Regions from separate parts of the Homo sapiens genome. Here all the other regions are linked to region 1. The links are contacts of gene promoters, found by promoter capture Hi-C in human tissues and cell types (Jung and others, 2019). All regions are on one chromosome and are shown on one strand. The core of a region is centred on a gene start or on the middle of the fragment in contact, and the rest is flanking DNA. Distances in the headings are between cores, read along the strand shown. Region 1 holds the start of VLDLR (very low density lipoprotein receptor). Region 2 has its middle 250 kb from the start of VLDLR. Region 3 overlaps LOC101930053 (a long non-coding RNA gene). Region 4 overlaps PUM3 (pumilio RNA binding family member 3). Region 5 overlaps LOC101930053 (a long non-coding RNA gene). Region 6 overlaps PUM3 (pumilio RNA binding family member 3). Region 7 overlaps LOC101930053 (a long non-coding RNA gene).

Region 1 (4,356 bases), core at 1,331-3,830:
AGAAGCTCCAGGGTAGAAAGTCAGCCCACATGCCCTGAGACTTTGAACTTAAGACAGATGCCGGTTGGGATTGGTTTAGGGTCAATAACTGCCTCAGCCCAAATTTCCTCCAGTTCTGGAAGAATCTGCTTCCTCTCCTTTGAAGAATTTGTTTTTCCATTGTTCATGGCATGTCAAATATTTCACATGTGACAAAGTGAAAAGGATCCTCACCTGCCCAATACAAGGTGAACATCTGGCTTTGACTAACTCATGTCAGTAGTTTAGGTGCATTCCTAGCATTCTATAAGGTAAAGTTAACCTCTAGTGGAAGGGACATGCAGCAAAAACGAAACTTTTCTCTCACCTTCCTGGATAATTGTCCCTCCTTCTGGTATACCTTAGCGTTTTGAAATGTTACAAAAGGCATAATGCAAGTCATGGCACTATACTGAGAAATCGTTTAATAAGTTAGTATTACTCATCTATTAATGATTAATGCTAGCGTTTGGAAACTCTTGTAAGCAGAGCTTTTCTAGGCTCTCAGGCTTGTTACACATCAGATTCCATGTTCACTACACATTCGTCCTCTTCAAAGAGTCCAGGCAGGGGAAGGCATTTGAGAGAACAGCCCGTAAGAGCCTGTGGAGTCTCCTACTTTCCATTGAAAATAACACTGCCCATGCTGCCCACTTAAGAGTCCGCGGAACCATGTGACCAACCTAAACGTGATCGCACCGCTAACCAATCGCAGAGGGCGGAAAGGCCAGTCCCAGTTCACACGCTCCGGACAGTGGCAACCAAAGGGCAGGGGCATTCGGAGACGTAAAAACCCCAGGCGCTGCCCGACAGGCTCCTTGACCACATGCTTTAAAGTTCGCTCTCACTTCAGGAGCACGTGACTGCAGGCCGGCAGGGCCCCTGAAGCCACCCGGCGACGGGAGCCAGGGACTCTGGAACGGGTGTTAAGGGCCTGGGCGGCTTTCAGTCCCAATTCCCTGCAGCTGGCAAGCAAGCCCCTCGGCGTCACATCTGAAGATCACTTCGGGGACGCGCTAGGATTCCGACTGAGTCCTCTCAGAAAGGCTTCCTGTCGCCTGTCCAGGAAAGTTACGAGGCCCCAAGTGGGAACGTGGCTGACGACCAGGCGGGGCCCCCAGGCCCCCGCGGCAGAGTCTGGGGACCCGACAGTAGTCACCGCCGCCCTTCCCAACAAGACAGGGCCACACGCTCGCTCTCGCGCTGCTCCTTTGAGCTATTGTGTAGAATGAAGGCTAATTACAGTCACTAGCCTAGGACTCAATTCCTCTCGAGGAAACGTCACCGGGAAGGAGGGTCAGCAAACTAACCTGATTAAGTCTCCCCTCCACTCCCCCTCCGCGTTCAGCTACACGGGAGACCCGAGCGGTTTCCAAACGCCGCCCGAGGCGGGGAAAAGGGAGAGGAGAAGCGCCCAGAGCAGAGTCCTGCGTAAAGCCCCGCCGCTCCCCTACCCCGCACGCCGGAGAGGCGGCCCCGCGCCGGGGGAGTCGCAGTCCGGGTGCCCTCGGCTCCGCGGAGCCTCCCGGCCGCCGCCCACCGAACGTGCGCCAGCTCGCGGCCGCCGGAAGACTCTGAAGCCCGGCCGGCCCCTGGCGCTCCGCGTCCCCGGAGGCGCTCACCTTCTCCCCCCGTCCGCTCCCGCACTCCCCGGGGTTCGAGGGTGCGCCCGAGGCTGCCGCACACGTCTTGGCCCTCTGCCTCCTTCCCAACACTGCGCCTGGCAGAGGAGGCAGAACCATTGTTCAATGCTCAGAAGCCCACGCACCTCGGCGCCCGTCAAGAGGGCGAGAAACGAGGCGAAGCAGCGGCTCTGGGGGAGGCGGAGTGAGGGGCAGAAGACTAGTTCAGGCGAGGCGTCGGGGCACCCCGAACCCCGCTGTTCCCCAAGCCCGGCTCCCTTTAGCCTCGGCGCTGACAGCTCAGAGGCGCCACCACGGAGGGGAGGGAGGGAAGGCGAGGAGAACCGAGAGGCGCCTCCTAGGAGGCGGGTGGGCAAACGGAGACCTACGCCTCGGGGTCTCCCGGTGCCCCGGCTGGGTCCCGCCCGCCGGCGGAGGGGCGCGTCCTCACTCACCGGTTCCGGTGGCGCCGCTCTCCCGGGGCGCCCAGCACAGCGCGAGCAGCAGCCAGAGCGCCCAGAGCGCGGACGTGCCCATGGTGCCCGCCTGGATGGTGCCGCCGCCGCCGCCGCCGCCGCCGTTCGCTCCGCACGACAAGTTACCAGTCCTTCCGAAAGGAGGAAGAAGGTGGGGGCGGGGAGGGGAAAGGGGGAGAAGGAGGGGAAGGAGTTGGCGGGGGAAGGGAGCGGGGAAGAAGAGGGCACCCCCTCCCCTACAACTTGCACAGTCTCCTCCCCACCCACCCAGCCACCTCCCCGGGCTGCAGCAGCAGTGCAAGCCGAGCCTGCGGGCAGAAAATAATGCAGGCGCTGCAGAGGAGGGGAGGCAAGGGGAGAGGAGGGAAGGGAGAGGGGGTGGGGAGCCGAGAGCAGAAGAGAGCACAGAACGGAGAGGAGCCGGTAGCGGAGCACCCGCACCGGCGGCGGCCGGAGAGCGGGGTGAGCAGCGGGGAGGGGGCCGGAGGGGGCGTGGTCAACGGGAGGCGCGGCGGGCGGGCGGGAGCGCGGCGGCTTCGGCCCTCCTTTCCCTCGACGCGCTCCTCTTGCACGCGCCGGGCAGCCGGGTGCCCGCGCGGGGAGCGTGCGAGTGTGAGCGTGCGTGAGTGACCGCGGTCGTGGTCGTGGCTGCCGCCGCCGCCACCCGGACCGCTCTAGGGGCCCGGCTGCTCCGCGCGTTCGCCTGGGGCTCACGGGGGCCCGGGGCGACCGCTGGTTGGCTCGCGCGCCGCCCTCGCCTCCAATCCCGGGTGCCTGTCCTAATTTCCTGATCCAGGGAACCTGCCGCCGCAGCGGCTGTGCGCTCCCTACAGTCATTACTGTACCCTCCCGGCAGCCTCCGGCAGAACACGCAGCAGCAGCAGCAGTTAGCGCTGATGCAACTATCGTTGCTGTTGCCACCGCCTCCCCACTGACGGGGCGTGCACCTGGGGGGTACTTGCAGTTTCCAGGGGCAACAAGCATCTCTCTACCACCCTCTCCTGCGCCCCTGAGAGAGGCTGGTAGGTAGCATCTTCTTCGGGCCTCCTCTATCCACTCAGAAAGTGATGAAGCGGAGGGGCTCCAAACGTTTGGGCTGCTCAAAAGTGGGGTTTGGGATGCCGGTCTCAATCGCACGCTGAGATGCCGTTTTGCCGAAAACTAAATGTGTCTTTAAGTGAGAGAGTGTGTATGTTTGAAAGAGAGTGCGCGCGGTTGTGGCTGGTCCTCTGTAATAGAACAAGACTGAAATAACCCAGCCTGGGATGAGGAGAAGGGAAATTGCTAGCGCAGCTTTGCATTTGCTCATCAACGATTATAGTTAATTGCTAATTGCACAAAATGATAGTTTGAGGGCCTGTAATTAAAAGCTTAACCTTTTCTTGTTTGGAAGAGAGGGGCCCCATACGTTTATTCCTCTTGATATACTTTGTAACATTCAATTACAAGAATCGAGGAAAGAATAAAGGAAGCAAAGACAAGACTCCTAGAAAGGGTTGGTTCTTCTTTTGTGCCTGACAGTACCTGAGTCTATAATTTGCTTTTTGTGTACTTCAGTTTTCTTGCACACTTAGCCCTGGTTGAGGTGCATTGTCTGCTGTGGTCTGTTGAGCATCTAACCAGAGTGGGAGGGCACATCGAGCGATTTCACTTTCTTAAATAAAAGGTTTTTGGTATTTTGAAAAAGTTGTTTTTATCTTAATTCAAACTTGGAAGGTTTCAATAATATCATATTCTGACTCTATTCTGTTGGTGATCTGAAGAGCAGCGGGCACTGCCTCACTGTCTTCTCCTTGCCCTGGTTCTCCTGGAAATTTGTCAAGGCTAGCAATCAGAGGAGATGTTTATTAGGAACTTACTATATCCAGGAGACACACAGGAGAGGAAAATTCCAGTCAGGATAGGTTTCTGTGGGCCAAAGATATCCTGATTGTGACTGCTAAGCATGAAAGGGCTTAACTCTACGTATGGATGGTATCTTGCACTATAGCTCATTTTGAATGCTATTTTGCCCACCCTGTGGTTACATAGTTGATACAAACTGCAGCAGCCACACAGGTTGCATGTGAAACAACTGAAATTTGTTTGTATGACATTTAGTAGTGAAGATGCATGCCGGTGTTATTCACCTAATGGCATTGAGATGTGATAGGAAAACCTTAGTGCATGATGTCTTTCATATTCTCAGGGTTCTGAAATGCCATCTGATGAGCTACTGCTTTACAGAAGAGGAAAGGAGT
Region 2 (4,356 bases), core at 912-3,411, 250 kb after region 1:
TCATCCTACAGTGGCGTAGAACGCATTCTTTTTATCTAGTTGTCATTTTCTGTCCTTAAATAGGGGTCCCCACCCCCTGGGCCACTGACTGGTACCAATCCGTGGCCTGTTAGGAACCGGGCTTCACACAGGAGGTGAGCAGTGGGTGAGCAAGCATTACCAACAGACCTCCACCCTGTCAGATCAGTGGTGGTATTAGATTCCCATAGAAGCCAACCCCTATTATGAACTGCGCATGCAAGGGATCTTGGTTGTGTGTGCCTTATGAGAATCTAATGCCTGATGATCTGAGGTGGAACAGTTTCATCCTGAAACCATCCCCCACCCACCATCTGTGGAAAACTGTTGTCCCCAAAACCAGTACCTGGTGCCAAAAAGGTTGGGAAGCCCTGCTTTAACAGATCTCTCCCTATCCCTCCCTTCTCCTTACCCTTCCCAGCCTCTAGTATCCTCTTCTTTACTTTTTACTTCTGGGATCAACTTATTTTAGCTTCCACATAGGAGTGAGAATATTCAGTGTTTATCTTTCTGTTCCTGACTTATTCCACTAATATGATGTCCTCTAGCTCCATCCATGTTGATGCAAATGGCAGGATTTCACTCATTTTTTATGACTGAATAGTATTTTATTGTGTATATATCACATTTTCTTTATCCATTTTTCTCTTGTTAGACATCTAGGTTGCTTCCATAACTTGGCTATTGTGAGTAGTGCTGCTGCTGCAATAAACATGGGAGGGCAGATATCTCTTCAATATTATGATTTTCTTTCCTTTGGATAAATTCTAAGTGGTGAGATTACTAGATTATATGGTAGAATTACTTGTAGTTTTTCGAGACACTCCCATACTGTTCTCCATATTCTCCACAGTAATTGCATTAGTTAGCATTTCCATCAACAGTGTATAAGCCTTTGCATTTCTCTGCACCCTGGGCAGCATTTGTTATTTTTTGTCTTTTTGATACTAAACATCACTGGGGTGAGATGTTCTTTCGTAGTAGTTTTGATTGCACTTTCCTGATGATTAGTGATGTTGAGCATTTTTAATATACTTGTTGGCCATTTGTATGTCTTTTGAGAAATGTTTATTCAGATGGTTTGTCCATTTTTTAATTGTATTGTTTGGGATTTTTTTTCTGTTGAGTTCTGTTTGAGTTCCTTATATATTCTGGGCATCAATACCCTGTCAAATGAATAGTCTGCAAATATTTTCTCCCATTCTGTAGATTGTCTTTGTTGATTGTTGATTGTTTTCTTGCTGTGCAGAGGTTTTAGTTTGATATAATCCCATTGGTTTATTTTGCCTTTGTTGCCTGAGTTTTTGAGGCATTAATCATAAAATATTTCCCCAGACTAGTGTCCTAAAGCGTTTTCCCTATGTTTTCTTTTAGTAGTTTTATTGTTTCAGGTCTCTGATACATCTTAAGTTGATTTTTGTATAGGGTGAGAGCTGGTGTTCTAGTTTTATTATTCTGCACATAGACATCCAGTTTTCCCAGCACCATTTATTGATGAGACTGTCCTTTCTACAATGTGTGTTCTTGGTGGTCTTATCAAAAACCAGTTGGCTGGAGGTGCATAAATTTATCTCTGGGCTCTCTGTTCTATTCTATTATTCTATGTGTGTGTTTTTAGTCTAGTACTATGCTGTTTTGATTACTACAGCTTTATCGTATATTTTGAGGTATGGAAGTGTGATACCTCCGGCTTTGTTCTTTTTGCTCAGGACTGCTTTGGCTATTCAAGGTGCTGTGGTTCCACACAAATTTTAGAGTTATATTTTTCTATTGCCGTGAAAGATGTCATTGGTATTTGGATAGGGATTGCATTGAATCTGTAGATTGCTTTGAGTAGTATGGTCATTTTAACATTAATTCTTCTGATTCATGAGCAAGAGATGTCCTTCTACTTGCTTTTGTCCTCTTCAATTTCTTTTATATTATTTATTTATTTATTTTATATTTTCAAGCTTTTATTTTAGGTTCAGGAGTACAAGTGCGGGTTTGTTGTACAGGTAAATTTATGTCACAGGGGTTTGTTGTACAGATTATTTCATCACCCAGGTACTAAGCCTAGCACTGGATAGTTAGTTTTTCTGATACCCTTCCTCTTCCCACCCTCTACCTTCAAGTAGGTCCCAATGTCTGTTGTTCCCCTTTTTATGTCCATGTGTTCTCATCATTTAGCTCCCACTTTAAATGAAAACACGTGTATTTGATTTTTTGTTCCTAAATTAGTTTGCTAAGGAAATAGTCTCTAGCTCTATCCACGTTCCTACAAAGGACATGATCTCATTCTTTTTATGGCTGCATAGTATTCCATGGCATATATGTACCACATTCTCTTTATCCAATCTGCTGTTGATGGACATTTAGGTTGATTCCATGTCTTTGCTATTTTGAGTAGTGCTGCAATGAACATATGTTTTCATGTGTCTTTATGCTACAATAATGTATATTCCATTGGTGATATACCCAGGAGTGAGATTGTTGGGTAGAATGGTAGTTCTGTTTTTAGCTCTTTGAAGTATCACCACACTACTTTTCACTATGGTTGAACTAATTTAGACTCCCACCAACAGTGTATGCACATTCATTATTCTCTGCAAACTTGTCAGCATCTGTTATTTCTTGACTTTTTAATAACAGCCATTCTGACTGATGTGAGATAGTATCTCATTGTGGTTTTCATTTGCATTTCTCTAAAAATCGGTAATATTGAACTTATTTCTGGGCTCCCCATTCTGTTCCATTGGTCTAGGCGTCTGTTTTTGTACCAGTACCATGGTGTTTTGGTTACCGTAGCCCTGCAGTATATTAATAGTTTGAAGTCAGGTAACGTGACGCCTCCAGCTTTCTTCTTTTGTTTAGGATTGCCTTGACTATTCAGGCTCTTTTTCAGTTCTGTATGAATTTTAAAATAGTTTTTTCTAGTTCTGTGAAGAATGTCATTGATAGTTTGATAGGAATAGCGTTAAATCTGTAAATTGCTTTAGGCAGTATGACCATTTTAATGATACTCATTCTTCCTATCCGTGAGCTTGGAATGTTGTTCTGTTTGTTTGTGTCATTGCTGATTTCTTTGAACAATGTTTTGTAATTTTCATTGTAGACATCTTTTACTTCCCTGGCTAGCTGTATTCCTAGGTATTTTATTCTTTTTGTGGCAGTTGTGAGTGGGATTGTATTCCTGATTTGGCTCTTGGCTTGGCTGTTGTTGGTGTACAGAAATGCTAGTGATTTTTGTGTATCGATTTTGTATCCTGAGACTTTGTTAAAGTTGTTTATCAGCTGAAGGATCGTTTGAGCTGAGACTATGAGGTTTTCTAGATATAGGATCATGTCATCAGCAAAGAGGGATAGTTTGACTTCCTCTTTTTCTCTTCAGATGCCCTATATTTCTTTCTCCTGCCTGTTGCTCTGGCCAGGACTTCCAATACTATGTTGAATAGGAGTGGTAAGAGAGGGCATCCTTGTCTTATGTCAGTTTTAAAGGGGAATGCTTCCAGCTTTTGCCCAGTAAGCATAATGTTGGATGTGGGTTTGTCATAGATGGCTTTTATTTTGAGGTATATTCCTTCAATACCTAGTTTATTAAGAGTTTTTAACAGGAAGAGATGTTGAATTTTATCGAAAGTCTTTTTTGCATCGAGATAATCATGTGGTTTTTGTCTTTAGTTCTATTTATGTGATGAATCACATTTATTGATTTACATTTGTTGAACCAACCTTGCATCCCAGAGATAAAGCTTACTTGATCAAGATGGATTAGCTTTTTGATGTGCTGCTGGATTCAGTTTATGAGTATTTTCTTTATATGCTCTTCAACTTCTTTCATCAGTGTTTTGTAGTTTTTCTTATAGAGGTCTTTCACCTTCCTGGTTAAATTTATTCCCAGGTATTTTATTGTTTCTATAGCTATTGTAAATGGAATTGCCTTCTTGATTTCTTTTTCAGCCATTGTGTGGTTCATGTATAGAAATGCTACAGATTTTTGTATGCTAGTTTTGTATCCTGCAACTTTCCTGAATTCATTTATCTTTTCTAAGAGTTTTTTGGTAGAATCTTTCCATTTTTCTATATATAAGGCAATGTTATTTGTGGACAGGTACAATTTGATTTTTTCCTTTTCAATTTGGATATCTTTTATTTCTTTTTCTTGCCTAATTGCTCTGATTAGGACTTCCAGCACTGTGTTGATCAAGAGTGGTGAGAGTGGGCAATATGTCTTTTTCCAGCTCTTAGAGGAAAAGCTTTCAATTTTTCTCCTTTTAGTATGATGTTAGCTGTGAATTTATCATATATGAACTTTATTATTTTGAGGTACTTTTCTTCTATATGTAATTTATTATCAGT
Region 3 (4,356 bases), core at 786-3,285, 220 kb after region 1:
ATGTGTCTTGGTGAACTTCCCTTTGGGTTGAATTTAATTAGAGACCTCTGAGCTTCCTTTACCTGAATGTTGTCATCTTTCCCCAGATATGGGAAAATTTCAGCCACTGTTTACTTAAATATGCTTTCTGGGCTCTGTTTTCTCTTTTCTCCTTCTGAAAATCTTAAGCAAATGTTCATTCTTTTGATAGTGACCCATAATTCACATAGGCTTTTTTTTTTCATTATTTCTGCTCTTTTGATTGTATAATTTCAAATGTCCTGCCTTCAAGCTCACAATAATATCTTCTGCTGAATCAAGTCTGCTGTTGAAGCTTCTATTAATTTTTTTTAGTTCAGTTGTTGTATTTTTTATCTCTAGGATTCTATTTGATTTTTAAAAATGATTCTGTTTCTTTTTAAAACTTCTCACTTTTCTTCATAAATTGTTTTTCAAATTGTATTTAATTTTCTATCGATATTTTCTTTTAGTTCACAAAGCTTCTTTAAGATAATCATTCTAAATTCCTTGTCAGTCATTTTATAGATCTCCATTTATTCAGGGTCCATTATTAGAGATTTATTAGTTGCTTTTTTTGGTGTGATATTTCTCTGGATCTTTGTAAACCTTACACTAGTGTCTACACATTTGAAGAAATGGCTACCTCTTCCAGTCTTTGCTAATTTTCTTCAGTAGCAATAAACCTTCACTGTTTAGTCTAGCCTGGGATTCTGGATGGCCCAGCTGGTGGCAAGTCCTGGCAGGCAGGCCTTGCTGTCAGATTCTCTAGCTGGGCTGTACTGCTGACCGCTTTGAGGTCAAATGGAAATGCTGGCTGTGCTCTAGAGTTTGATGAGATCACTGGCTGGACTCTGTAGTTAGGCAGAGCTATTAGCTAAGTTTTGTGATTGCCTCTGAGCAGAGTTACAGATTGTCTTCTCTCACTAGGTAATACTGCTGTTTGGAATCTGTAGATGAGCAAAGCCATGTGCTAAGCTCTGAGATTAGGCAAGATCTCAAGATCACTTCTCAGCTGGGGACAGTGGTTCACGCCTATAATCCCAGCAGTTTGGGAGGCTGAGGGAGGCAGATCACCTGAGGTCAGGGGTTTAAGACCAGCCTGGCCAACATGGTGAAATTCCATTTCTATGAAAATATAAAAATTAACCAGGCATGATGGCAGGTGCCTGTAATCCCAGCTACTTGGGAGGCTGAGGTGGGAAAATTGCTTGGACCTGGGAGGTGGAGGTTGCAGTGAGCTGAGATTGCACCACTGCACCCCAGTGTGGGTGACAGAGTGAGACTCCATCAAAAAAAAAAAAAAATGCTCTCCAGATTCCTCCTCTCTAGGCAGGGCATCTCTGAAAGAAAGGGAGCAGCCCCAGTCAGGGGCTTATAGATAAAACTCCCATCTCCCTGGGACAGAGCACCTGGAGGAAGGGATGGCTGTGGGTAGAGCTTCAGCAGACTTAAACATTCCTGCCTGCCAGCTCTGAAGACAGCAGCGGTTCTCCCAGCACAGTGCTTGAACTCTGCTAAGGGACAGACTGCCTCCTCAAGTGGGTCCCTGACCCCCATGCCTCCTGATGGGGAGACACCTCCCAGCAGAGGTCAACAGACACCTCATACAGGAGCGCTCCAGCTGGTATCTGGCGGGTGACCTCTGGGACGAAGCTTCCAGAGGAAGGAACAGGCAGCAATCTTTGCTATTCTGCAGCCTCTTCTGGTGATACCCAGGCAAACAGGTTCTGGAGTGGACCCCCAGAAAACTCCAGCAGACCTGCAAAGAGGGGCCTGACTGCTAGGAGAAAAACTAACAATAGAAAGCAATAGCATCAACATCAACAAAAAGGATGACCATGCAAAAACTCCATCCAAAGGTCACCAAGAGCAAAAACCAAAGGTAGATAAATCCACAAAGATGAGGAGAAAACAGTGCAAAAAGCCTGAAAATGCCAAAAACCATAATGCCTCTTCTTCTCCAAAGGATCACAACTCTTTGCCAGCAAGGGAACAAAACTAGACAGAGAATGAGTTTGATGAATTGACAGAAATAGGCTCCAGAATGTGGGTAATAACAAACTCCTTCAAGCTAAAGGAGCATGTTGTAACCCAATGCAAGTAAGCTAACAATCCTGATAAAAGGTTAGAGGAATTGCTAACTAGAATAACCAGTTTAGAAAAGGACATAAGTGACCTGATGGAACTGAAAAACACAGCACGAAAACTTCATGAAGCATACACAAGTATCAATAGCCAAATCGATCAAACAGTAGATCGATTGAAGATACCAGAGACTGAAGATCAACTTAAAGTATGAAGACAAGATTAGAGAAAAAAGAATGAAAAGAAATGAACAAAGCCTCCAAGAAATATAGGACTATGTGAAAAGACCAAACCTACAATTGATTGGTGTACCTGAAAGTGACAAGGAGAATAGAAACAAGTTGGAAAACACACTTCAGGATTTTATGCAGGAGAACTTCCCAAACCTAGCAAGACAGACCAACATTCAAATTCAGGAAAAGCAACCCCAAGACATAATTAACAGATTCACAAAGGTTGAAATAAAGGAGAAAATGTTAAGGACAGCCAGAGAGAAAGGTTGGGTTACCCACAAAGGGAAGCCCATCAGACTAACAGTGGATCTCTCTGCAGAAACCCTCAAGCCAGAAGAAAGTGGGGGCCAATATTCAACATTCTTAAAGAAAAGAATGTTCAACCCAGAATTTGATATCCAGCCAAACTAAGCTTCATAAGTGATGGGAAATAAAATTCTTTATGGACGAGCAAATGCTGAGAGATTTTGTCACCACTAGGCCTGCCTTACAAGAGCTTTTAAAGGAAGTACTAAATATAGAAAGGAACAACCAGTACCAGCCACTGCAAAAACAAACCAAAATGTAAAGACCGTCGACACTATGAAGAAATTGCATCAACTAATGGGCAAAATAACCAGCTAGCATCATAATGACAGGATCAAATTCATGTATAACAATATTAATGTTAAATGTAAGTGGGCTAAATGCCCCCATTAAAAGGGACACACTGGCAAATTTGATAAAGAGTCAAGACCCATCGGTTTGCTGTATTCAGGAGAACCAGCTCACGTGCAAAGACACACATAGGCTCAAAATAAAGGGATGGAGGAAGATTTACCAAGCAAATGGAAAGAAGAAAAAGCAGGGGTTGCAATCCTAGTCTCTGATAAACAGACTTTAAATCAACAAAAATCAAAAAAGACGAAGAAGGGCATTATATAATGGTAAAGGGATCAATGTAACAAGAAGAGGTAACTATCCTAAATATATATGCACCCAATACAGGAGCACCCAGATTCATAAAGCAAGTTCTTAGAGACCTGCAAAGAGACTTAGACTCCCACACAATCTTAGTGGGAAACTTTAACACCTCACTGTCAATATTAGACAGATCAATGAGAGAGAAAATTAACAAGGATATTCAGGACTTCAACTCAGCTCTGGACCAAGTGGACCTAATAGACATCTATAGAACTCTCCACCGCAAATCAACAGAATATACATTCTTCTCAGCACCACATCACACTTATTCTAAAATTGACCACATAATTGGAAATAAAACACTCCTCAGCAAATGAAAAAGAATGAAAATCATAACAAACAGTCTCTCACACCACAGTGCAATCAAATTAGAACTCAGGATTAAGAAACTCACTCAAAACCGCACAACTACATAGAAACTGAACAACCTGCTCCTGAATGACTACTGGGTAAATAACATATTTAAGGCAGAAACAAATAAGTTTTTTGAAACCAATGAGAACAAAGGCACAATGTACCAGCATCTCTGGAACACAGATAAGCAGTGTTTAGAGGGAAATTTATAGCACTAAATGCCCACAAGAGAAAGCAGAAAAGATCTAAAATCGACACCCTAACATCACAATTAAAAGAGCTAGAGAAGCAAGAGCAAACAATTCAAAAGCTAGCAGAAGACAAGAAATAACTAATATCAGAGCAGAACTGAAGGAGACACAGACACGGAAATCCCTTTTAAAAATCAATGAATCCAGCAGCTGGTTTTTTGAAAACAATAACAAAGTGTATAGACCAACAGCCAGAATAATAAAGAAGAAAAGAGAGAAGAATCAAATAGACACAATAAAAAATGATAAAGGGGATATCACCACTGATCCTACAGAAATACAAACTACTATCAGAGAATACTATAAACACCTCTATGCAAATAAACTAGAAAATCTAGAAGAAATGGATAAATTCCTGGACACATACACCCTCCCAAGACTAAACCAGGAAGAAGTTGAATCCCTGAATAGACCAATAACAAGTTCTGAAATTGAGGCAGTAGTTAGTAGCCTACCAACCAAAAAAAAGC
Region 4 (4,356 bases), core at 1,361-3,860, 220 kb before region 1:
TAAAATTATTTCAATATAAAAATTAGAACAAACATACAGAGAAAACATGTAAATGAATGGATTCTTAGAAAACTACAGGTGTAGAAGAGCTGAGAGATGCAGGTATGGTTATGATGGCCATAGCCAAGTAATAATGTGACCCTTCAGTTCTAAATGCCCTGAGGAAGCTGAGTAATTCAGGGACTGTCCATTTTTCAAAATCATTAGAAAAGTCTAGATTAGAACAGCACTTTCCAGAGTACTCCTTGGAAGTCTGCTGTTCCCTTATGATGTTCCAGGAAAAAGTGGTTCAACTGGAGTTGGAAAATCCTGCATCCTTTAGCCTTTGCTTGAGAATTGATTGTATATATTAGCAAATTAAAGAATCTGAAAAGCCTTTTCTTACGGGCTGATTCTTGTCATTTAACTTACTGTTTCCCAAATATATTTTATCCCAGAACCCTTCTTTTCTCTTATGGTAATATCCTGAGAAATTAGTTCTTGAATGGGCAATTCTAATCTAGAAATATCTGGTGTTGTCTAGGGATCCCTAACATCTGTTGTTTACAGCCAGCTTTCAAATGAGTTGATCGTCCAACTTTGGAAAGTGGAGAAATGAGCCAAATGGCTTTTTCTCTTGATCTGTTCTGCTGCTTTCAGGGACCTTGGGTAGGTGAGGGGTTATAACTTGTTTATCCTGTGCACCATGGTGTCTCAGTAGCCTATAAAGCGCCTATTAGACAGATTCCTTTCAATGAAATATTAACTATTTCAACATCTTATTTTGGAGTTCACTGCCAATTGCTTGGCTGCGTCTAAAACAATCACAGATTAAACACTGGATGCTAATCTTTGTTTTAGCTGTGTTGGATTGCATAGGAATCTTTCAGATAATCCTTTATTTTCTTATATTAAATGCATGTAGTGGTACATGCAGCCTATTGTTTGTTCCTGGCTTTTTAGGCTCCAAGAAATCAAGCGATAATTTTGTCAGTTATTCATCCCCTAGTCTTCCCAGGTTACAAAATGCAAACTCTGATGCTTATTATACTTAGTGTCAATAGTGGTCTATTTTTAGCCAGTACTATTGTGGAAGTGAAGTGATGCCTCCAGAGATATCAAACACTGGCCAGGGTGTGTGTTGTTCTTAGTTTTTTTATTGATACCTTGTTCATTTTCAGTTTTAAAATTTGAGTCAGTGATTGCAAAATTGCTGGATTTAAGTACTTGTCCATTCTATATCTGGCTGATTTGTATTGTATTTGTAGACTGAAGGACTAAATGTGGCAATGACTATGAAACAGCTCTTATTTGATGAAGAGAACTGCAGTGATTGTTTTTGGTTTTGGTTTTGGTTTTCCAGAGTTGCTACGATGGAAGTTAAAGGGAAAAAGCAATTCACAGGAAAGAGTACAAAGACAGCACAAGAAAAAAACAGATTTCATAAAAATAGTGGTAAGATATGCTTCCCATGTGGGTGTTTGGCTGTTATAATTGGGGGATGGGAGGGCATGTAGTAAATTTCAATCTGTATTCATTGGCTAGGATTAGGATTAAAATAGTAGGAAGAAGTATGTGTTATTGTGTATGAGTTAACATGTTGCTCATGACATTTAGACACTTAAGAAATTGCAAGAATGATTGAGGAATGCCTTATTCATGAAAGACTCCTTATCTCAGTTGTTGCTGCTGTTGCCTCATTTTATTCACACTAGTTCACCATACATTTTATTTTAACATTTGATAAATTAGGACTGTTTAATACATACTGCTCATAAGCCAAATACGTTTAGGTTCAGAATTTATAATGGTGATGTCTTTATTATTCCATCAGGTGTCAGTATTGTAAAACAGAAAAGTCAAGGGACTATACAAATGATTAATGTTTCCTTAATGTTAGCCATTACTGTTTGCATCTCATTTGTTAGGTACTAATTTGTAAGCCTTCTTGATCAAAAGTTTTTGATAAATAATTTTAATATAGGCTTTAAAATTTTCTTAAAACTAGAAAATTTTAAAATTAACATTTTAGATGTCCTTATGATATACTTTCCAAATTTCAAGAATGTTCAAGAAGTCATTTCTTAAGACTTCTTTTGTTATTGAACTCTTGAAAATTCTGTGTAGACCATCATTAAAGCAGAATACAAAGGTATATAAATAATAGCTCTGCTATATGCTTAAAACTAGAGAAACATACCAAACTGACACCAGTGTTTATCTTTAGTGGTAGAATCATGGGTAGCTTTTATTTTACATTTCTCTACTCTCTAGGTGGTTTTATAATCAAGGAAAGAATTTTTTATTTTTGTTTTGATTGTTTAAATCCAGTTCTACTCAAAAGGCTATATGTTGCATATTTGAGAGTAAGACATGGTATTGGGATTAAAAAGTATAATTTTCTGTAATGGATATAATCCAATAGATAAAAGAGATTTGGGCCCAGAATCATTGAACTTATAATTATTATTGTCACTAGATTCTGGTTCTTCAAAGACATTTCCAACAAGGAAAGTTGCTAAAGAAGGTGGACCTAAAGTCACATCTAGGAACTTTGAGAAAAGTATCACAAAACTTGGGAAAAAGGGTGTAAAGCAGTTCAAGAATAAGCAGCAAGGGGACAAATCACCAAAGAACAAATTCCAGCCGGCAAATAAATTCAACAAGAAGAGAAAATTCCAGCCAGATGGTAGAAGCGATGGTAAGTACTGGTTCGTTCATGCCTGAACTAGTGCCTGAACGATTGTGCACAGGGACTCTGGAGGTGCGTTAGAAACCTCACATTCTTATTCCTTGGCAGGTAACATTTTGGGACAGGTAGGTGGCTTAAATAAACAACAAAGCATCTTTCATGCTCACAATTTTCCTCTGGTGCTTAGAGTTTCTTATTTCTTAGCCCTTTTCTGAATTACCTTAGCCATGGAGTTAAGTTAAATTATAATGGCTTTATACAGTGGAACCTCAATAAAACATTTCTTTTTATAAGCTAAAATTTATTCGTTCATCGAACGAGTATTTGAGTTTTCTATGCATTGTACCAGGAGATAGGGCAAAACACACACACACACACGCACACACACAAAAATAATCAGTAAGGATACAGGCCCCAACTAATCATAGAATCTGGCTTTAAAGAATCAGTCTGTCCCCAGCTAAGTGTCAGCCTTGGTTAAGGATGCTTTGGTGAGCAAGAAACATAGAGACCCTGCCTTCACAGAGCTTAGGCCAGTCTAATACAATAAATCCCTCTGATGGCGCAGATCCATAGTAGTTCCAGAGAAGGTGTTGTGCACACATGACAGATTTGATTTTAATTGATTCAGGACAAGTTGCTCACTGATTGGAAGTATTGGCAGGTCTCGTGCTTGTCTGTTGAAACAAACTGCCCATCTCTGTCAACGATGTTCAGTGGGTCATTTCTAACCCAGAACTTTGCTCTCTATTTTATAACATTCCGCTGTCGTGCTTTGTCCTGCACTGATCTCAAACAAGCAGTTTCCAGGTTATGTGGATTGTCATATCATTACTTTCTTTGCAACATCCTGAGAATTTTTCTGGTGCCTTTTATTCTCTTTTTCTCCAGCACAGCGTGTCTTAACACTGCTCCTTTGTTGCCAGCTGAGACCACTGGGGATGGTTTTCTCAGTGCCATCCCCTAGTCCTGGTGCTTGCTTTTTACCCTGCCTAAGGGCTGCTTACCAGAGGGACAGCAGCCTTAAGACAAGGAGGTAGGGAGAGAGGAAGGAGGGGAAATGCCATCGTTTCCCATTAGGGCTCCAGGATCTTTTCATGCTCCAGTCTTGATCTTCTCTTTTCATTTTTTCTTTCTCCCTCATCTTCCTCCTCCCCAATTGCCAGAAGTTTCTCTTCCAGCTCTCTTTTCTACTTTCTCTTTCCTAACCTCTCTACTAGATCCCAAATCTTTCTTTCTCTACTGGAGTTTTTGATGCCTGCATTTTAAACACATATACATTAATTTCTCACATTGATATGAGGAAAGTTATGATTTCTTTTGCTATGGGAGATATGTTCCTGATATCTCAAAATGGGACTCTGGATTTCATTTTCTCATATTTTTGTATCAGTAACTAGACTGATAAAATAACATGAGAGATTGGTTACTAGACAACCCCCACACTGATAAATGTACTGCAGCCTAGCATGACATATGTCAAGGGTACCCAAATATTTATGGAATTAAATTAGCCCTGGATCAGTTCCTATCCTCTATTGTATAGTAGAGGATACCATATTAATATAATGGTAAATATGCCCTCTGTTGCCTATAATCTTTTGTATTACCAGACAGGGAATGAATATATAAGTAAACAATAAAGGAATAATAAATACATTGTAGTATATTGGATAGCCATTAAA
Region 5 (4,356 bases), core at 1,356-3,855, 190 kb after region 1:
CTTCTTGCCCCTCTACCATCTAAATGCTGAGAACTCAGGTCCTAGGGAATGGCAAACCATGCAACAGAAGGAAGCCTCCTATGTAAACCCACATATGGAAGAAAGCCTCTGATTGACCAGAGAAGACTCTTACATGAGCAAGAAATGTGCTTCTATTGTGTCAACAACTGAGTTTTGGCTTTGATACAGCAGTTCACATTGCCCTAGTTAATGTACTGGGAGGTGGAAGGAAATACGGGGCAAAAGAACAGATGAGAGATGTCAAAAAGTATGGATTGATGGGTCAAAAGTTAGGGGACACACAGCCATGTCATCTGAACCAGAAAAGAACCTGGAACCAAAAAAAAATCAGTCCTTTTGCTCGGGGACTGAGGGGACCAGCAGACACAGCATCCTTCACACCATGCCCTCCTTCACCCTGCCTTCATTCAATTGCTAAACGTGCCTCGTTCTGCTAAGTGTTCAGGTGGTATCTACTTCTCTCCATTCTCACTGGCAGTACCTGGGTGGTCATCTTCATCTGTTGGCTGGATTATTTCAATACTCTGTAACTAGTCCTATGTTCTGTTAGTCACCCCTTTTTCCCCTCACAGATCCATTCTCCATGCTGCAGCCGGAATCATCTTCCTAACACACAAATGGGATTATGACCCACTCCTTAGGCCCTGGCTTGAACCCTTCAATTAATTCTCAGTGTGATTACAATAAAATTCAAAACTCTATGTGGCCCTGCATGATATGGCCTGTGTTTCAGCTGTCACCTCTCCAGTCCTTAGACTCTGTGTTTCAGCCACTGTGAACTTCTTTTGGCTCTCTGAGTGGGTCACACTTCTCTTGCCTCTTGTCCATCACATAAGACACTCCCACTTCCCAAATGTCCTTCCCCTTCTCTCCTCTCCATGTGCCTTCCTACCAACAGTTTGACTCCCACTCAACCTAGCTGTCACCTTTTCTGGGAAGTTTTCTCTGACATATTCAGACTGAATTAACTTCTTATTTTCTGTCTGTCCTTAGTACCCTGTTCATTTCCCTATCAAAGCACTGTCATACTCTACTGAATTTTCTGTCTGTATCTTTGGTTAGACTGATGCTTGAGGGCAGAAACACCTCAATCACCATTAAATCTGAGCACTTCATGGATATTTGGTACAGAGAAGATGTTCAGTACTTTTTTTTGCTTGTTTTTTAGCTGGGTGGATGGGTGGGACAAATACCTGTTTGATACAAGCCAAAGAAAAGGTCATACATAGGCAATAAGCAATGTTGGTTAACCATTAGTGAAAATAGAATCACATTTTTTTCATACATTTATTTATTTATTTAATCTGATCCATAAATATCTTTTAACATATGATTTTCCAAAGTTGCTGTGTTTGACTCTTTTAAAGGATTTGACTGATTTGCTTAATTATTTGTTTGTTTGTTTGTTTGTTAATATGTGAGTAGACAAGCCAGCACATCTTTCTCACTCTCTACAAGCCAGGACTGGAAGAAATCTGGTTGTTGGCTTAGGAGGGATGAACCACGCACTGGGTTAAGACCTTGGCTCTGGAGTCAGAGCGTCTGAGTTTAGTTCTGCCATGTGATTTACCAACCATGTGATCTCAGGTGATGAATTAATGTTTCTGAAGTCCTTATCAGAGTGCCTAGTACATATTAAGAATGCAACAGTGGGTAGCAATATCATCAATGTTATATTCTCCACAAAAATTAACTTTATCATTATCCTTCCTTAATATTGTTGTTAGACTGTGACTGACGCATCACGGGGGGCGGGGGTTGTACACTGTGTGCAGGAAAAGTAACCAGAAACATCAGCCCTATGAGATCATCAGGAAAGACCTAATGCTTCTCACTGGACAGACAAGAAAACCCACACTCAGCAGGGTTAGGAGACCTTCTCCAAGTCACGTAGCTAGTAAGGGCAGAGCTGAGAGTCAAACCAGAACCTCTGATTCCAAAGCCAGTTCTCTTTCCACTACACTGCACGGCCTCTGGGTGTTAGCATTTCCAGGTCCCACCTACTTCCAAATATCTAAGGTCAAATAGGACTTTGGATTCCAAATATGCACACTGGGACTGCCTGTTCCCTTCTCTCCATTCACAGGTATGTGGCATTGTGGGCCCATGGGGCATTCTGCCCAGGCTTCAGAGCTCTCGGATGTGCCTCCCTTCCCCAAGCTGTCTTCTCTGTCAAGGGCACAGAGTGGTTCCCATAGAGACCAAAGTAACCTTTCACAGAGTTGTTTCTGCGTCTCTCCCTGGGAATGGGCTGGGATTGCTATCAATCTCTTGCACTTCAGAAGTCCAGAGAAACCAAGGCTTTTGTGCTTTGTAGACACATGCCACAAAAACTGAGCACACTTACCAACTGAACAAACATCAGAGTGTGCCAAATCTCTAAAGTCCGATTCTTAGTGCAAACTGCCAAAGCAGGTAACACTTACAGTACTCAGAAGGTCATAAATCGTCTAAGCTCGATAGCACCTGAGGCCTCTTCTAGTCTGAACTATTTATTTTGCAAAGGAGGAAATATGGGCATAGAAATGGGCAGGAACAAATGTCCAGGCTTTGGTGATAGTGGTTGTGGGGTGTCTCCTGGGTCCCATTCCGTCATCCTTCTCATTACACCCATATACGTCTTCCTGGAGCCTCATCATAATTGGATACCCCTTACAGAGACCAGCTGCCTGAGACATAGACACCTGCTCAGGACGTTGGCTATCACTATGGGGAGGCATTTTGACACAGGCCATTGTTAGTGATTGGGAACACCTCCTAAAAATGAGATGGTCTGAAGGGGTCCCAGTACTTGGGGGCTGTGTGTAATAGGAGCCTTAAGAGAGGCTCCTAGACTATCTCTTGATTGCCTGTATTATATTTTGTGAGAATGTAAACCTACCTCACTATGAATTTTAGCAAAATAAAATTTAAAAGAAAACAACCAAATGAAAAGAGGTGTCATACAGAAAAGAAGTATGGACAATTCTAGCGATGTTTCAAGAATAGTGTTCATCACTGGTTCTCCAGTACACAGAGAAATGTGCTGGAGAGGTTCATTAGGATTCTTGAGTCAAGCCAAAGGCTACAATCAGGCATGTGGTTTCAGGCATCCAGTAGCAGAGGTTAGCTCTAGAGTGGGGCCGGAAATAAACATTGCCCCATGTACCTACCCTACCCTTAGCTTAGTGCCTCCCAGTAGGTGGAAGGGAAATCTTAAGGAACCAAGATGGGTTGATCAATTCCAGGAAGCTTTGATGTTTTCAAAATCCCATAGGATATTGAAGTCATAGAACTTCCCAGGGGGTTCCTGAACCAGAATTCGCTTCAATCAGACAGACAGGGAACATATCTACTGTCCTCTGTTCTCCACATTTTCTCATCTTCTGAACCTCCACTTCCAGTCCTAAATCAGAGATAGGCAACTCCCTGCAGTACGGCGATACCACATGCCAGAGGGCTAAAGGAGTTCTCTCTATTGCACAGGACCATTCACAGGCAATGGAGTGAGTCTGAGGGGGATCTGAAGGGGAAAATTGCCTTTTGAGCATACTAAATTCCATCCCATTTAAGGCAGGAGACAGTGTCTCTTTATTCTTAAGCTTCCATTATCCTCCTTGGTACCCAGTGCGTGGAAGAGACTGAATAAACATCTGACGGATGACTAGGTAAATGAATGAATGAAAGAATAAAGTGAGTGTTTGAGTTAGTTAGAAAAAGAGTGAACTATATAGGCTAGAGAATGACTGCCAAAAAAACCACAAGGGCATTGCAAAATCTCCATAATACACACATAAATGTTCATGCATTCTATGATGGAGAAAGAAGTTCATCTGTTTATATAATTCCTATCAAAACTGTATTTCCTCTTATGTTTTTTACTTTCTTGAACTCTTTAAAACAAGAAACTTTTAACTCTTTTGTTCTCTGAACATTTAAAATAACTTTTTGGTGTTATTTCTTTCGTTTTTTCTAGCCAGTGAAATATTTATCCCAATGAGCTGTTTTTCACTTAACCTTGCTTAGTGTCTTTGTCTGTAGTCACCACTTGGCCTTTTCACTACTATATGCATTAACACCCAGGTAGGAAAGAGACAAATGGAAGCAAAATAGCAAAATGGTGAAGAGGAGGGTTCTAGAGGCAGAGAGCCCTGCAGTCCTGAGTCCTGAGTCCACCGTTTAACAGAGTGACTTTGCTCAGCCTGTGGATTATAATGAAACTTGCCTGTAAGTATGATTATGAGTAGTCCTGTAAGGATAATTCATTGCATTGTGTTAATCACACAGTGAATGATCAATGAATTTTAGTTACTGGTATCATTATATTGAATTGCTATACTACTGTATTACATTAAA
Region 6 (4,356 bases), core at 1,321-3,820, 200 kb before region 1:
AGTTATACTTTATATATTTGATGGATAACAAATTTCTAATTTATTGATGAACTAAAATTATGTAGTAATCAACTACTTTATCCTTTGAAAACATCCAGTGAGAACTACTAGCATCTGGGGAATACTTCAACTTGTTTGAAATACTAAATCAAACAAGTTAAAATTAATGCTGTGTGATTGTGTACTTGACTATTGTCTTCTGTTGGGCTAGAAATTAGAAGAATTCAGAAGGCAGCTAACGTTCCTATAATAAAGTGAAATATGGAATTCTCATATTTTTTATAATTCATAATTCAATATTCATATATATTTCATAATTCATAATTATAATATGAATTATAATGTTATATATTATATAACATTATATTATTATGTTATAAATATAAATATAATTCATAATTATAATTCATAATTCAATATTAAGTAAATTTTTTTGCGTGACATTCTAATTTGAATACCTTACATTAAAATGAGTAAAAACTAGAATGTTAATAGAAAATTCACAAAGGTATTAAGAGTATAACATTTTAAAATAATAAAATTATATTGTTTTAGTTCTACAGTTTGTTTATGTCAGGTAATTTAACACTAAGTACATATCTTTTTAAATCTCGAAGAGTTACTTCTAAAGGGGTGATAAGCTAACGTTACCCATGGATTTGATCCATGGATTATTTGGAATTATTAATTTCCAAATATTGGGGGTTTCTGGATATATTCTATATTCTTTTGTTCCTTTTAAATTTACTGAGACCTGTTTTATGGCCTAACATATGGTCTAAGTATTTTGAAAATAATATATTGTAGAGTTGTTTGGTGGGGTATTCTATATTTGTCAATTAGATCAAAGTAGTTGACAGTGTTCATACCATCAGTGTTTTTACTGACTTATTATTTTCTAGTTCTATCAGTTGCTGAGAGAAACATGTTAAAATTTCCAACTATACTTGTGGATTTGTCTGTTTCTCACTTACATTCAATTCTGTACCACCTTCTGTTGTATTCACCTAGAAATATTTTATGCTTGGTTATGCTTATGTGTGTCCGAGTTAAGAGAACTGAAACCAGTGATTTTGTACTAGGCACGTTGTTCTATATTTTGTCTCCTTCACTTAATTCATATTATGGGTCATTTTATTTCAATATACATACATCTGTCTACCTCACTTTTCTTAGTGACTGTAATATTTCATCGTGTGCCTATACCATAATTTATTTAACCAGTCCCCACTGTTGGGCATTTTGGTAGTTTCTAGAGTTTTTAAAATTACAATTAGTACCCCAGTGAATATATTCATATGTAAGTCTTTGTACTTACATGGAAACACGTCTGCAAGATAAATCCCTAGAACTAGAATCACTGGATCAGCTCATACCTGCATTTTAAATTTGTATAGGTGTTGTCAATTGCTCTTCAAAGAAGTTGAACCACTTTACATTCTCATCAACATAAAAGCGTGCCTGCTTTTCCCTAAACCTTTGATAAATTAGTCTATTGTCAGAGGTTTTCACCATCACCCATAGGATAAATGGCATTTCATTGTTTTAATTATTGTCCTTAATTAGTTCATAAAGCATTATTTCATACATTTAAAGACATTTGTACTTCTGTTTTAGTGTGATCTGACTCTTCATGTTCTTTTTTTTTTTTTTTTTTTGAGACAGAGTCTTGCTCTGTCGCCCAGGCTGGAGTGCCGTGGCGCGATCTGGGCTCACTGCAAGCTCCGCCTCCCAGGTTCACGCCATTCTCCTGCCTCAGCCTCCTGAGTAGCTGGGACTACAGGCGCCCACCACCATGCCCAGCTAATGTTTTGTATTAGTAGTAGAGATGGGGTTTCACCCTGTTAGCCAGGATGGTCTCGATCTCCTGACCTCGTGATCCACCAGCCTCAGCTTTCCAAAGTGCTGGGATTACAGGCGTGAGCTACCGCACCTGGCTTTGCCCATTTTTAGTTGGTTGTTGGTCTTTGTATAGTAAGACCTTTGTTGTTTGTCTTCAGTTTGTCTTTTTGACTTTACAGTTAGCAACTTCGTTATTGTTTCTAATTGAAATTGTATTATCTGTGATATTTATCAGATCTGGCTCTGAATGATTGTGGGCTATTATCAAAAATCAAATTCCTATCAGAGTTTGAAACAATTATATCAACATCCAGGATACTCATGCCACAAGCTCTGGAAACAGGTTTTTGTTTTCTTTTGTTTTTGTTCTTAACATAAAGTAGGTGTTCTTTAAATGTTTGGAACAGTATTAGCATCATGGAAATAATTTTATTTCAAAAGATGAGTGTTGTGAAAGCCACATGTGTATTTCTGTGATCTCATGCAGCTATACTTTTTTTAAAGTAATGATTTTTATATCATTCTCATTCAGTGTATAATTATACTCTTCTAGTTTATTTTTTCATATTTATATTCTAATTTTGTGAGATCACTTTAAAGAAATTGAGCAATATAGAAAAGAAAATTAAAAATCATTTGTATAACCCAGAGATGACTATTACAATGCCTTGCCTTCCAGGATTTTCTGTGTACATGTATTATGTATATCGTGTGTGTGTGTGTATGTGTGTAAAATTGTATGAGTTTATATTTTCTTTTTCATGATTGGAGTATCATATATGTGTTTATATATGTAGGTTTTTTGAAGTTAATCTTATAACTTGAACTTTTAAGTATAATTTTCAAGTAGCTATTCATTAACAGTAACCTATGTAAATAGGTATTAGTTTTAGACTATTTGGTAATGAATAATGTGCTTTAAAAAAAAATCAACCTTACCTCTAGAATATAATTAATGAGGTCGTGATAAGAGAGGAAGTTCATTAAAATGGCTTTTATTCATCTTGTTATGTTAGACAAGTTGTCAATGTAGGTAATCTTTTTTTTTTTTTTTTTTTGAGCGGAGTCTCGCTCTACCTTTATGAAGATATTCCATGTGTGAAATAAGAGGGAAGATCTATGCACTTGTTTTTAACCTTTGCTGGCTTCCAATTCTTGCAGGGCCAATACTCCCATTTGGTTTTACTGGCGGCATTTGATTGTATTGATGATACTAAGCTTGTGAAGCAGATAATCATATCAGTAAGTAATCCTGATGGTCTTGAATTTAAGTTACATCGATAAACCAGTTGTGGATGTGTAAGCTTGATTTCACCATGCATGTGTAAAGACTTGCAGCTGTGCCTTCTATCAGTATTTTTGCTTACTTTTAAGTTAATTATGTTTTATTTTGGAGGTTTGTTTTATTCCTGTGTAAATCTTAACCTTGTAACTTGATATTAATACTGTTTTAAATATTTAAGACTGGTCAAATTAAGATTTAACACTTTTATTTTGGATTAGGATAACATGGTACTTTAGAACATACGTGATTCTAAACTATGGAAAATTAGCAAAGTGATATTTAGATATGATCAGAAACTAGCATAGTAATTCCTTAGTTATTCCAGAACTCAAATACAAGCAGAGAGTATCTGTGACCTATTAAATTATCTCTCTCCCTGTGGAGAAATAATTACCTCTGCACAGTTACCCAGTTAATCAATGCATCTGTGCTGGATTGAGCTGATGGAGAAGAGAAATGTACAAAACTCACTCAGTTGTGATGCTTCTTAGAGCTTTTGTAGGGTCAGATTAAAAGTTATTACTAAAATTAAAACTCTAGCTTCCTTTTGACATTTCAGAAATTCCTTCTAGTCCAGTGTAGTGGCCATAAAGTGGTAATACTTGAATGTAGTGTATTTATCGCTAACGTTGCCTTCAGAAAAACCAATTGTCCTCTTAGGGGAAGTACTCCAAAGTAAAAATTGCATTCTAAACTATGTGTTTTCTTCATTCTGCATCAATAGTCTCTTTTTCTGATTCTACAATTGTCTTTTCTTTTGTTTTTAGTGTATGAGTGGTGTTGAGTATATGGTAGAGGTTGCAGCAGGGTGGGGATAAGAAAATACTAGTTTGATAGTAGTGACCAAACTTGGAAACGTCTGGAAAACCACATAATCTGTATAGACATAGGTTATTCATCTGAAAATTACACAAGCCTTTCTGTTTGATATACATAAATGGGACCCTTGGAGAAATCTTAGTGATGACATGTGGTACTTTCACATCTGCAAGAAAGAAGAATATGATGATTCAAAAAGAGAATTTACCTGTTGTCAGGTGGTGGTGTTGTGGTCTCTCTTTGTAGCCTCCTGGGATCAGTAGAGCTGAGTGTAGTAGAAAAAGTATACCAGCTAGTGGAGGGGAAGATTGTTTTCTTAGATGCCAGCCGTAGGTCCCAGTGTGTGTGAATTTCTCATGCCCTTGCTGTCATTTTCCAACTTTACCCTTGACTGTTTTAAGATTGTGATG
Region 7 (4,356 bases), core at 1,075-3,574, 180 kb after region 1:
TAATAAAATACCCTACCCAAGTTACTAAATAAATAAGCAAGTAACATGAACAAGCACAGGAAACGGAGGAAAATCACTATCTAAAGCTGCTACAATACAGAAATGGCCTTACAAGAAATAGCAAAGGAAGTTCTTCAGGCTGAAAGCAAGTGACCACAGTAATTTAAATCTACATAAAGAAACCAAGCACTAAGAGAGGTGATTATGTAATTATGAAAGATAGCATAAATGCATATTTCTTCTCCTTTCTCTTAACTTACTTAAAAAAATATGGTATAAAGCAATATGTGTGTAATTATATTGCAGACCTATAACATGTAGAAATATAATATACTTGATCATAACAGCAGAAAGGAGGTAGGTGGACAAAGCTGTATTATAGCAAGGAAAGGACACCATATGCTCACTGAAAACTATAGGAAAAGATGAACAAGAAATAGCAAATTAGCTGGTTAATATTACAACCCCCCCAAAATATATGCTTGCTTTCTTTTTTTTTTATTATACTTTAAGTTTTAGGGTACATGTGCACAACGTGCAGGTTAGTTACATATGTATACATGTGCCACGTTGGTGTCCTGCACCCATTAACTCGTCATTTAACATTAGGTATATCTCCTAATGCTATCCCTCCCCCCTCCCCCCACCCCACAACAGGCCCTGGTGTGTGATGTTCCCCTTCTTGTGTCCATGTGTTCTCATTGTTCAATTCCCACCTATGAGTGAGAACATGCGGTGTTTGGTTTTTTGCCCTTGCGATAGTTTGCTGAGAATGATGGTTTCCAGCTTCATCCATGTCCCTATAAAGGACATGAACTCATCATTTGTTATGGCTGCATAGTATTCCATGGTGTACATGTGCCACATTTTCTTAATCCAGTCTATCATTGTTGGACATTTGGCTTAGTTCTAAGTCTTTGCTATTGTGAATAGTGCCACAGTAAACATACGTGTGCATGTGTCTTTATAGCAGTATGATTTATAATCCTTTCGGTATATACCCAGTAATGGGATGGCTGGGTCAAATGGTATTTCTAGTTCTAGATCCCTAAGGAAGCGCCACACTGACTTCCACAATGGTTGAACTAGTTTACAGTCCCACCAACAGTGTAAAAGTGTTCCTATTTCTCCACATCCTCTCCAGCACCTGTTGTTTCCTGACTTTTTAATGATAGCCTTTCTAACTGGTGTGAGATGGTATCTCATTGTGGTTTTGATTTGCATTTCTCTGATGGCCAGTGATGATGAGCATTTTTTCATGTGTCTTTTGGCTGCATAAATGTCTTCTTTTGAGAAGTGTCTGTTCATATACTTTGCCCACTTTTTGATGGGGTTGTTTGATTTTTTCTTGTAAATTTATTTGAGCTCATTGTGGATTCTGGATATTAGCCCTTTGTCAGATGAGTAGATTGCAAATATTTTCTCCCATTCGTGGTAGGTTGCCTATTCACTCTGATGGTAGTTTCTTTTGCTGTGCAGAAGCTCTTTAGTTTAATTAGATCCCATTTGTCAATTTTGGCTTTTGTTGCCATTGCTTTTGGTGTTTTAGACATGAAGTTCTTGCCCATGCCTGTGTCCTGAATGGTATTGCCTAGATTTTCTTCTAGGGCTTTTATGGTTTCAGGTCTAGCATTTAAGTATTTAATCCATCTTGAATTAATTTTTGTATAAGGAAGGGATCCAGTTTCAGCTTTCTACATATGGCTAGCCAGTATTCCCAGCACCATTTATTAAATAGGGAATTGTATCCCCATTTCTTGTTTTTGTCAGGTTTGTCAAAGATCAGATGGTTGTAGATAAGCAGCATTATTTCTGAGGGCTCTGTTCTGTTCCATTGGTCTATATCTCTGTTTTGGTACCAGTACCATGCTGTTTTGGTTACTGTAGCCTTGTAGTATAGTTTGAAGTCAGGTAGCGCAATGCTTCCAGCTTTATTCTTTTGGCTTAGGATTGACTTGGCCATGCAGGCTCTTTTTTGGTTCCATATGAACTTTAAAGTAGTTTTTTCCAATTCTGTGAAGAAAGTCATTGGTAGCTTGATGGGGATGGCATCGAATCTACAAATTACCTTGGGCAGTATGGCCATTTTCACGATATTGATTCTTCCTACCCATGAGCATGGAATGTTCTTCCATTTGTTTGTATCCTCTTTTATTTCATTGAGCAGTGGTTTGTAGTTCTCCTTGAAGAGGTCCTTCACATCCCCTGTAAGTTGGATTCCTGGGTATTTTATTCTCTTTGAAGCAATTGCGAATGGGAGTTCACTCATGATTTGGCTCTCTGTGTGTCTGTTATTGGTGTATAAGAATGCTTGTGATTTTTGCACATTGATTTTATATCCTGAGACTTTGCTGAAGTTGCCTATCAGCTCAAGGAGATTTTGGGCTGAGACAATGGGGTTTTCTAGATATACAATCATGTCATCTGCAAACAGGGACAATTTGACTTCCTCTTTTCCTAATTGAAAAAAAAATACCCTTTATTTCCTTCTCCTGCCTGATTGCCCTGGCCAGAACTTCCAACACTATGTTGAATAGGAGTGGTGAGAGAGGGCATCCCTGTCTTGTGCCCATTTTCAAAGGGAATGCTTCCAGTTTTTGCCCATTCAGTATGATATTGGCTGTGGGTTTGTCATAGATACCTCTTATTATTTTGAGATACGTACCATCAATACCTAATTTATTGAGAGTTTTTAGCATGAAGCGTTGTTGAATTTTGTCAAAGGCCTTTTCTGCATCTATTGAGATAATCATATGGTTTTTGTCGTTGGTTCTGTTTATATGCTGGATTATTTTTATTGATTTGCATATGTTGAACCAGCCTTGCAGCCCAGGGATGAAGCCCACTTGATCATGGTGGATAAGCTTTTTGATGTGCTGCTGGATTCGGTTTGCCAGTATTTTATTGAAGATTTTTGCATCGAAACAACAATATCCCTGATGAACACATCAGGGATATTGGTCTAAAATTCTCTTTTTTTGTTGTGTCTCTGCCAGGCTTTGGTATCAGGATGATGCTGGCCTCATAAAATGAGTTAGGGAGGATTCCTTCTTTTTCTATTGATTGGAATAGTTTCAGAAGGAATGGTACCAGCTCCTCCTTGTACCTCTGGTAGAATTTGGCTGTGAATCCATCTGGTCCTGGACTTTTTTTGGTTGGTAAGCTACTAATTATTGCCTCAATTTCAGAGCCTGTTATTGCTCTATTCAGAGATTCAACTTCTTGCTGGTTTAGTCTTGGGAGGGTGTATGTGTCGAGGAATTTATCTATTTCTTCTAGATTTTCTAGTTTACTTGCATAGAGGTGTTTATAGTATTCTCTGATGGTAGTTTGTATTTCTGTGGGATCGGTGGTGATATCCCCTTTATCATTTTTTATTGCGTCTATTTGATTCTTCTCTTTTCTTCTTTATTAGTCTTGCTAGCAGTCTATCAATTTTGTTGATCTTTTCAAAAAACCAGCTCCTAGATTCATTGAATTTTTGAAGGGTTTTTTTGTCTCTATTTCCTTCAGTTCTGCTCTGATCTTAGTTATTTCTTGCTTTCTGCTAGTTTTTGAATGTGCTTGCTCTTGCTTCTCTGGTTTTTTTAATTGTGATGTTAGGGTTTCAATTTTAGATCTTTCCTGCTTTCTCTTGTTGGCATTTAGTGCTTTGAATGCGTCCCAGAGATTCTGGTATGTTTTGTCTTTGTTCTCATTGGTTTCAAAGAACATCTTTATTTCTGCCTTCATTTCGTTATGTACCCAGTAGTCATTCAGGAGCAGGTTGTTCAGTTTCCATGTAGTTGAGCAGTTTGCAGTGAGTTTCTTAATCCTGAGTTCTAGTTTGATTGCACTGTGGTCTGAGAGATAGTTTGCTATAATTTCTGTTCTTTTACATTTGCTGAGGAGTGCTTTACTTCCAACTATGTGGTCAATTTTTGATTAGGTGCGGTGTGGTGCTGTGAAGAATGTATATTCTGTTGATATGCTTGCTTTCTTTTCCTCTCTCAGCTCCTTTAAAAGACATAAAATTATATATTAAGTAATAATTAACAACCCCATTAAAAAGTGGGCATAGGACATGAACAGACACTTCTCAAAAGAAGACATTTATGCAGCCAAAAAACATATGAAACAAGCTCAGCGTCACTGATTGTTAGAGAAATGCAAATCAAAACCACAGTGAGATACCATCTCATGTCAGTCAGAATGGCAGTTATTGAAAAATCAAGAAGCAACAAAAGCTCTCCAGGCCATGAAGGGATAGGAATGCTTTTACACTGTTGGTGGAAATGTAAATTAGTTCAATCATTGTGGAAGACAGTGTGGCAATTCCTCAAAGACCTAGAACCAGAAATATCATTTGACTTAGCA

What was found. The method cuts DNA at HindIII sites, captures the fragments that hold promoters and counts their contacts. A contact is called where the count stands out against the background at its distance.
Region 2: a fragment that was not itself captured here is called in contact with the fragment with the promoter of VLDLR in region 1 in 2 of the 25 tissues and cell types used here (IMR-90 fibroblasts and heart left ventricle).
Region 3: a fragment that was not itself captured here is called in contact with the fragment with the promoter of VLDLR in region 1 in 2 of the 25 tissues and cell types used here (heart right ventricle and ovary).
Region 4: a fragment that was not itself captured here is called in contact with the fragment with the promoter of VLDLR in region 1 in 1 of the 25 tissues and cell types used here (dorsolateral prefrontal cortex).
Region 5: a fragment that was not itself captured here is called in contact with the fragment with the promoter of VLDLR in region 1 in 4 of the 25 tissues and cell types used here (heart left ventricle, lymphoblastoid cells, mesendoderm cells and 1 more).
Region 6: a contact is called between a fragment that was not itself captured here and the fragment with the promoter of VLDLR in region 1, in 1 of the 25 tissues and cell types used here (mesenchymal stem cells).
Region 7: a fragment that was not itself captured here is called in contact with the fragment with the promoter of VLDLR in region 1 in 4 of the 25 tissues and cell types used here (aorta, dorsolateral prefrontal cortex, mesendoderm cells and 1 more).

Annotation. Positions count from the first base shown.
Region 1 is chr9:2,620,011-2,624,366 of GRCh38, reverse strand. It overlaps VLDLR (very low density lipoprotein receptor), which reads right to left and starts at 2,580. Exons shown (of 19, transcript NM_003383.5): 1 at 2,096-2,580. The coding sequence starts at 2,177. It overlaps VLDLR-AS1 (VLDLR antisense RNA 1), which reads left to right and starts at 1,994. Exons shown (of 4, transcript NR_015375.2): 1 at 1,994-2,267. RefSeq lists silencers at 1,446-1,535, 1,546-1,635, 1,906-2,175, 2,786-2,865 and an enhancer at 2,744-3,038. The HindIII fragment of the contact is 11,914 bases long and covers 1-4,356 here.
Region 2 is chr9:2,371,824-2,376,179 of GRCh38, reverse strand. No RefSeq gene overlaps it. Among named protein-coding and RNA genes, the nearest start is that of VLDLR, 250 kb to the left of the region's middle. The HindIII fragment of the contact is 5,218 bases long and covers 1-4,356 here.
Region 3 is chr9:2,400,341-2,404,696 of GRCh38, reverse strand. The region is part of intron 5 of LOC101930053 (a long non-coding RNA gene); the gene reads left to right. Among named protein-coding and RNA genes, the nearest start is that of VLDLR, 220 kb to the left of the region's middle. The HindIII fragment of the contact is 3,278 bases long and covers 397-3,674 here.
Region 4 is chr9:2,835,504-2,839,859 of GRCh38, reverse strand. It overlaps PUM3 (pumilio RNA binding family member 3), which reads left to right. Exons shown (of 18, transcript NM_014878.5): 2 at 1,343-1,434; 3 at 2,459-2,680. The coding sequence starts at 1,353. Among named protein-coding and RNA genes, the nearest start is that of PUM3, 6.4 kb to the left of the region's middle. The HindIII fragment of the contact is 7,995 bases long and covers 1-4,356 here.
Region 5 is chr9:2,425,268-2,429,623 of GRCh38, reverse strand. It overlaps LOC101930053 (a long non-coding RNA gene), which reads left to right. Exons shown (of 6, transcript XR_001746603.2): 4 at 4,084-4,227. All of the region lies in intron 2 of LOC105375956 (a long non-coding RNA gene), which reads right to left. Among named protein-coding and RNA genes, the nearest start is that of VLDLR, 190 kb to the left of the region's middle. The HindIII fragment of the contact is 5,833 bases long and covers 1-4,356 here.
Region 6 is chr9:2,818,746-2,823,101 of GRCh38, reverse strand. PUM3 (pumilio RNA binding family member 3) reads left to right here. Exons shown (of 18, transcript NM_014878.5): 13 at 3,004-3,084. Among named protein-coding and RNA genes, the nearest start is that of PUM3, 23 kb to the left of the region's middle. The HindIII fragment of the contact is 3,005 bases long and covers 1,068-4,072 here.
Region 7 is chr9:2,443,943-2,448,298 of GRCh38, reverse strand. All of the region lies in intron 3 of LOC101930053 (a long non-coding RNA gene), which reads left to right. Among named protein-coding and RNA genes, the nearest start is that of VLDLR, 180 kb to the left of the region's middle. The HindIII fragment of the contact is 8,299 bases long and covers 1-4,356 here.